Linked DNA regions of Homo sapiens: region 1 is linked to region 2. Evidence: promoter capture Hi-C in human tissues and cell types (Jung and others, 2019). All regions are on one chromosome and are shown on one strand. The core of a region is centred on a gene start or on the middle of the fragment in contact, and the rest is flanking DNA. Distances in the headings are between cores, read along the strand shown.

Region 1 (3,489 bases), core at 122-2,621, 180 kb after region 2:
ACCCCGAAAAAAACCCCATGAGGACTGAAGACCAACAGGACCCTTGCCATGAGACAGGAATAACTGCTGTAGCAGCAGGGAGCCTGCACCAGCACAGACACACTGATGGGACGATAGAAACGAGAATGTGAATGTGTAAACCACCAGAGCCAAGAGTATTTTATTTTCTTCTCAGTGGTATCATATTCTAAATAATGGATGTTTTTCTCTAATTTTTAACTGAGAATGATCAAAATGCATGCATTAGGCCCACCTTCATCCTCATCCTCATCTTCATCTTCTTCATCAAGTCCAAATTCTTCTTCCTAAAGAATAGCAAACAGCATAACATTAAATTAATTCTGCCAAATTGAAAAGTGCATATAGTACAAATTCTGCCAAACTAAGAAGTACAAATAAATGCAACAATATCAATCAAGCAGGAAACTGTAATGTTATTTTTATCTACTTTGATGTACCAAGACCCACTGATTTTCCTTAACGAGCTTTATAATTTTTCTAAGAAAAATTTTTTTTAGAAGCAAGCAGTTCATTTGCTAGATGTTTAATTAGTATATAACTCTGGATAATTCAAGAAAACATCTTAAAATCTCAAATTTCAAAACAGATTTAGACAAAAATTTCTATATCCCATTCATATACAAAGCTTCTTTCAGAACTTTAATGTCAATCATACACCTAATGACATCACACAAACCCCAAGCCTTATTTTTATACTACAAAAGAGGATGCGTTTTGTTAACAACTAATGTTGTCTGCCTGTTTCCCAAACCTCTTTGAGGGTCAAAGTCAAGACACTGTTTTCTCCTGCCCTCGTATAGCATTTATTTCCTCAGGGATCCTCTATTATTGGGTATTTCATAAACCAGACTGTGCTCTTTCAGGGCAGGACCACAATCTCATTTCATTTTGTACTCCCAACTCTTTAACATAGCAGATATATATTTACTGAATTACACTGAATATACAAGAAAAAGTTTAGACTTGGTAAACATAAACTTCCCTACAATTCAATGAAGGAACAGACATACCATCAATTCTCAACATGTCCAGTTTTCTCACCACACTGAATACTCAATTCATTCCTTCCCCCAGAGGGCCAGAACTTACCTTGCACAGCCAGGAACCGTACTAGTTTGAGTTCAGTAGGCATTCTATTTAGTAGTTATTTAAAGCCAGACAAACACTAAATTAACCAGATTCATATTGTAAATGTATTCACAGGTATACTAATTTCTTCAAAAGGTGTTTTTTCTTTTCTTTTGTCATCTTTTTGAAACCCCCACTTTTGTTGTAATTACAAATAGGAAGCAGGGTAGAAAACAGCTGCACTGACCTCCTCACTGACTTCATCGTCGTCCTCATCCCCTTCTACATCTTCATCTTCATCATCTTCTTCATCAAACTCCTCTTCTTCACCATCCTCATCGTCCTCGTCTTCCTCATCTTCTCCTTCTAAAAATAGTCCAAAAGGGATTCATTAAATATCCTCGACGCTCCACAGGGGACAAAGTGTTGAGGATCTGTGGGCTGGCTCACAGAACAAATGCTGTAAGGCCACGAACTGCAGTCACTTTCTTTCTACTATGTGCTACAGCTCAGTCCCTTTGTCCGATAGAGTCCCATAAAATCAGAGAGCTAGAAGTCCTGGTAGATAAGACAAACACTATAATTCTCGCTGATGAAATGATACAATGGCTAAGATTTGCTTCAAAATTATATGGAGTGGGGAAGAAGGTAAGGGTATGCAGGAATAAAATAAGATCAGCTATGACCAATAATTGCTGAAGCTGAGTGATAAGAACATGGGGGTTCATTTTGCTATTATTTTTACCCTTTGTCACTGTCTGAAATTTTTGACAGTAAAAAGTTAAAAAAAAAAAAATCATGTACCTTCTCTTGGGTATCATTACCAGAGTCACAGTCAGCTGCTCAAATCAGGAACCTGAGAAACACCCATAATAACCCTGTGACTCAGGGGACAGGAGGCTGAGAGGCACCTGCATCTCTAGCTGGTTGTTCGGACCTCTAGTGCGGCAGTTCTTGCTTCTCCTGGGTCCTAGAGCACACCATGCTCTCACCTGCCTCCTGGTCTCTGCATGCTCTTTCCATCCTCTTTGCTTGGCTAACTCTGACTCCACCTTGGAGTCTCAGTCAACATCACTTCCTTAGGCAGTCTTACTCACCAGACCTCCCAATGCCAGGTCATAGGCTCTCACCATGAGTATGTGGTGCTTCTCCATTACAACACACTTTGCTTACTTGCAATTATTATTTAGAATTCTTAATTTAAAACAATTTTTTCTGTACAGATAGGGTTTGTCTATGTTGCCCAGGCTGGTCTTGAACTCCTGGATTCCAGCAATCATCCTGCCTCACCCTCCCCAAGTGTTGGGATTACAAGTGTGAGCCACCATACCTAGCCTATTTATGATTTAAAAAAAAAAAACAAAAAAAAAAAAACACCATTTCTCTGTAAGGTCCAAGAGGGTAGGAACCTTGTTTTTTTGTTCCTTTTTTTTTTAAACCACTATTTTCCGCAGTGCCTGGCACATAGGAAATGCTCAAGTATTTGTTGGCTGACCCATCTTTGCTCTCAGGAACTGCCCCCCACCTTCCAAGGAATGTCCTTTACTGGCTCTTGCACATGTGGCTGTTCTTCCTGTTTGAGGTGAACTTAAATAGACAACAAGCACAAATGGTTTTTAGGAAAAATGGAAAAACTGTAGAAGGGACAAAGGGACATAACATTTGGAAATAAGTGAGATGTCCTATTCTCTGTCCATTTTACCACCTTATAACTCATTAATTTTTGCCTGTCTCAATATGCTTCAAAATAAAACTGTAAAAATGCTTCCAGAGAATTATACCATTAACTGCACCCAAACTCCTTGATGCTTTTCCTCCTCTATTTTCTTGATAATTTCTGTCATATGTGCTAATTTTTAAAGAAAAGAAATACTCATGCTGACTGATGTGAAAACTAATCATTCTGCTTCCTCCAAACCAGGGGTTCCCAACTCCCAGGACTGGTACTGGTCTGTGGCCTGGGCCGCACAGCAGGTGGTGAAGAGCAGGCCAGTGACCATTACCACGTGAACTCCGCCTCCTGTCACATCACCTGTTAGATCCTCATAGGAGTGCAAATTCTATTGTGAACTGCGCATGTGAGGGATCTGGACTGTGCATTCCTTATGAGAATCTAATGCCTGATCTAAGGTGGAACCGTTTCATCCCAAAACCATTCAGCTGCCGCCCCCAACCCCTTCCCTGCATCTGTGGAAAAACTGTCTTCCATGAAACCAGTCCCTGGTGCCAAAAAGGTTGGAGACTGCTGCTCTAAGCCACCTGTACGTGAGAAGCGTTTTATTCTAAGAGTGACTGAGAATAAACAAACTCAGCATGCAAAGAAAACACAAACTAATCAGGAGGAATATCTTGGGTAGAAAGTATTAGTTATTTCTTAAAATCTGTAAATCTGTAAAATAT
Region 2 (3,451 bases), core at 17-2,516:
GGATGGGGTTTTCAGGACCATAGTGCACACTGGGCTTTGGGTGGTAGGCAGGGAGCCCGTCCAGCTCTGGGCAGGGGGGTGGTACAGTGGACTATGGAAGCTGAGTCACATTCTAAGGAGAGAATCAAGAGCTCCCTAAGTACCTTGCCACTCCAAGCCTCAGTTTTCTTATCTGTAAAATGGAGGTAATAATAGTGGCTAAATAAAGCCACTATTATTAGAAGCTTAGAAGAAACGATACAGATATGTAAAGTAGTAACAGTGTACTCTGTTATCCACTCCACAACTATATATTGAGTGGTTACTATGTGCCACGGAGCAGTTCAAGGCCCTCAAGATAACCCGTCTCTACTGAACAAAACCAAGAGCTCTTCACAGACGTGGTGTGGAGTGGAGTGGCTGTTAGCTTAGTAGCCGTGGGAGCCATACTGCCTGGGGTTGCATGACTAGCCGGGTGATCTTAACCTAGGTACTTAATATCTCTGTGCCTCAGCTCTTTTGTGTTAAATAGGTGAGTAATGGTATCAACCTCATAGGCCTGTGTGACAGTGAAGCGAGGTAATGCACAGAAGGCGCTTAGAGGAGTGCGTGGCTCAGTAGTGTTAGGTGGGGGTGGTACCCAAAGGTAGGGCCTCCCCATTGTCTAGTGTCCTCAGGGCTCTCCAGCCAGCGAGGCTGGCAGCAGCGCCCCCGGCTGGTCCCGAGAGAAGGAAGGGCGTCCTCCTCGGTTCCCAGCGGCGCTCCCGGCTCCTCTCCTCCCTGCGGACGGGGAAGCCTCGGTAACCGCTGTAACTGCTCGGGGAAAGGAGCGCTTCCCTGGCCGGGCTCGGCGCGCGCACTGTACCCGGCCGGGATCGTCACATCCAGGGCTCAAACAGCCTTAAGAGGCCGACGCGGTTACTGTCTCCATTTCACAACGGGGGAAACTGAGGCTCCGGGAGGTCAGGTTCCTCATCCCACACCACGCAGCGAGGGCACGGCGCGACGTGGGGCCCGCGGCTCTGCCTGTCCCCAGCCTCCGCCTGGTGGCCGGCAGCCCGCCCCAATCACTGCGGCGTGTGCGCGCCTGTTCCCAGCACGTGTGCGCGCCCCGAGACCCGCCCCGGGGAGCCAGGAGCGCGGTCGGGGTCGTGGGGGCGGAAAAGGGTGGCCAGGGCGGACCCGCGGGGCGGGCAAAAGGGCGGACCTTGGGCCAGGCCCCCGCCCCGCCCTCCGGCCCCGCCCGCCGGGCTGCAGGGGGAGGCGGCGGCGGCTCTGGGCGCCGGGAGTCGGCGGGCGGCGAGGAGCGCGGAGCCGGAGCTGGACGCCGCCGCCGCCACCGCCACCTGCGCGGCAGTCATCAAGGTAGGGCGGCCCTGCGCCGCCGGCCGTGCCTTCCCGGTCTGCGCGATGGGGGCGTCGGGCGGGACGTGCGCGCTGCGGCTGCAGCTCCCGGAGAGGGAGGGATGCGGGGCTCGGAGCGCGGGGGACCTGGCTTTCAGCCCCTTTGCGTGACCTTGCACAAAGCACTGCTCCTCTCCAGGCCTCAGTTTCCCCGTCAGGATAGCTTGCTCATTGGTGGCCCCCTTCTCGCGGGGTTGTTGGGAGGGGCCGCCTCGAGGTCCGGGCTCCCGACGGCTCGCTGCCCTCATGAGCACTGTCTGCACCGCCCACCCCTCCTGCCCGCGGTGAGGGAAGCTCACTCTGGGCGCGGCCAGCCGGTCCCGACAGGCCCCTGCTGTGGCCCGGGTGCTCCATGGGACTCTTGTCGGGACCCTCCCCCTCTTGGCTGCGTTACCTGCTGGGCCTCAGCTTCCTGGTACAGGAAACGGTGGGGTGGGGGGCATCCCCGGGTCCCCGCCAAGCCGGCCTGGGCGTGCATGTGGGGCATCAGCCGGCCCGCCAAGAGGGTTTACTCGTCTGGGGCTGGAGGAGCCCTAGGTTGGAGGTGGCTGGACTCCTGGCGGCACGACTGCCTGGACCAGCCCCACGTAGGCACCTCGATTTAGAGAGTGGTATAGGATAGCTCCTTCCCCTTCCCCACCCGGGCCAGGTGCTGGTGCCTAGCTCTGTGTCCCAGAGCTAGTGTGTGATAAGGTGTGACACACACTAGCTGGTGTGACAAGGGGTGACTGGCGGCCACGCCTGGACCTCAGAGGGGTGACAGTGCCAAGGTGCTGTGTCCGCGTGGCATTAAGGGATGGGGCAGAGCACAGGTCTGAGGGACTGTGGTCCCAGGCTCCCTAGGTAAAGAAGACCTATGGCATCTGGCCCAGCCCCTCTGTAAGATCCCCTCTGGAAGGTCTTGCTGCCCCCTTGCACACTCCTTGTGATAGGAATCTCACTAGTTGTAAACCAAGCTGGAATCTGCTACCCAGTCACTGCCTCTCCTGCTGGTCCTGCTCTGGACACACAAACAACCTCTGACCCTTCCTCCCTCACCCTGGGGCAGTGGTCAGGTCCCTTAAATATGCTCATCTCCAGACCCAGCAGCCCCAGGCCCAGCAGTTTCTCCCATCAGATCCCAGGGAGCCAAGGCAAGAAGAGGGAGCCGAGGTGTCTGCCCTGGAGCAGGCTGTGGGGCCTCCGCTTTCCTGGGGCTTGTTCAGAACCCACCTGTGCATCAGGACTGGAATGTGTCTCCCCAGCTTCCTGCCCCTCCTGGGGACCGTCTGAGAGGTCCGGAGTGAGGAGAGCCGGAGCCCCTCTGCAGGCCTTTCCTGCCCCATGGGGCCTCTTCTCCACCTCCCTGATGCCTGCCCTGTTTGAGGGAGCAGTTTCTAGGAATCACTTCTCAGCCTCCTGGTCTTTCTTGTCCCCTTCATGACCTGCCCTGCACCCAGGGATTTTCTTAACAGCCAAAAGAGGGCAGGAGGCCCCTGGACAGGTAGTGAGCTCTTTGTCATCACAGGTATTCAAGCAGAACCTGGGGGTGAGCTACCTTGGACTGAAAGTCTATGGAATTCTAGGGCTGAAGTAGTGCCTATGACCTTGCCCTGCGGCCATGGTGGAGCTGCACAGGACTGGGAGCTGGACCACAAATGAGTGTTATTATCCCCTCGTAAAAGCAGGCAAAGTATATGTGCTGGCCCATGAGCCCAGCTCCGACGCACAGGCTTAAGTGCTACCTGGGTCTCCTGTCATCTCGACACATGTATAATCTGGGCCCTGTTTTCCTGCTTGCCTAATTCAAGCCTTTTTGGCCTGATTTAGGAGCATGGCAGATTCTGGTTATTAAAAAGTCATGCTATGACTTTAATTGCTAATACTTTTTAAATGCACCATGGAATCATGGAATGTCTGAGCTGAAAGGAGCCTTCAGACGTCGTCTCATTCAACCCCCTCATTTTACAGATAGGCATCCCCTGTCGCCAGAGGGGATGTGACTGGGCAAAGGTCACACAGCAAACCAGCAACCGAGCCCAGGGATCCTGATTCCAAGATTGGAGTGCCTTTTTTTCTCCAAAAAAAC

Evidence for each region. Contacts are between HindIII fragments. The study calls those that stand out against the background at their distance.
Region 1: a contact is called between a fragment that was not itself captured here and the fragment with the promoter of CORO2A in region 2, in 2 of the 25 tissues and cell types used here (aorta and thymus).

The regions. Positions count from the first base shown.
Region 1 is chr9:98,009,237-98,012,725 of GRCh38, reverse strand. ANP32B (acidic nuclear phosphoprotein 32 family member B) reads right to left here. Exons shown (of 7, transcript NM_006401.3): 5 at 1,337-1,455; 6 at 254-305. Among named protein-coding and RNA genes, the nearest start is that of ANP32B, 28 kb to the right of the region's middle. RefSeq lists an enhancer at 1,848-1,917. The HindIII fragment of the contact is 4,064 bases long and covers 1-3,403 here.
Region 2 is chr9:98,190,452-98,193,902 of GRCh38, reverse strand. It overlaps CORO2A (coronin 2A), which reads left to right and starts at 1,266. Exons shown (of 12, transcript NM_052820.4): 1 at 1,266-1,344. RefSeq lists silencers at 937-1,486, 1,557-1,606 and an enhancer at 1,759-2,413. The HindIII fragment of the contact is 8,969 bases long and covers 1-3,451 here.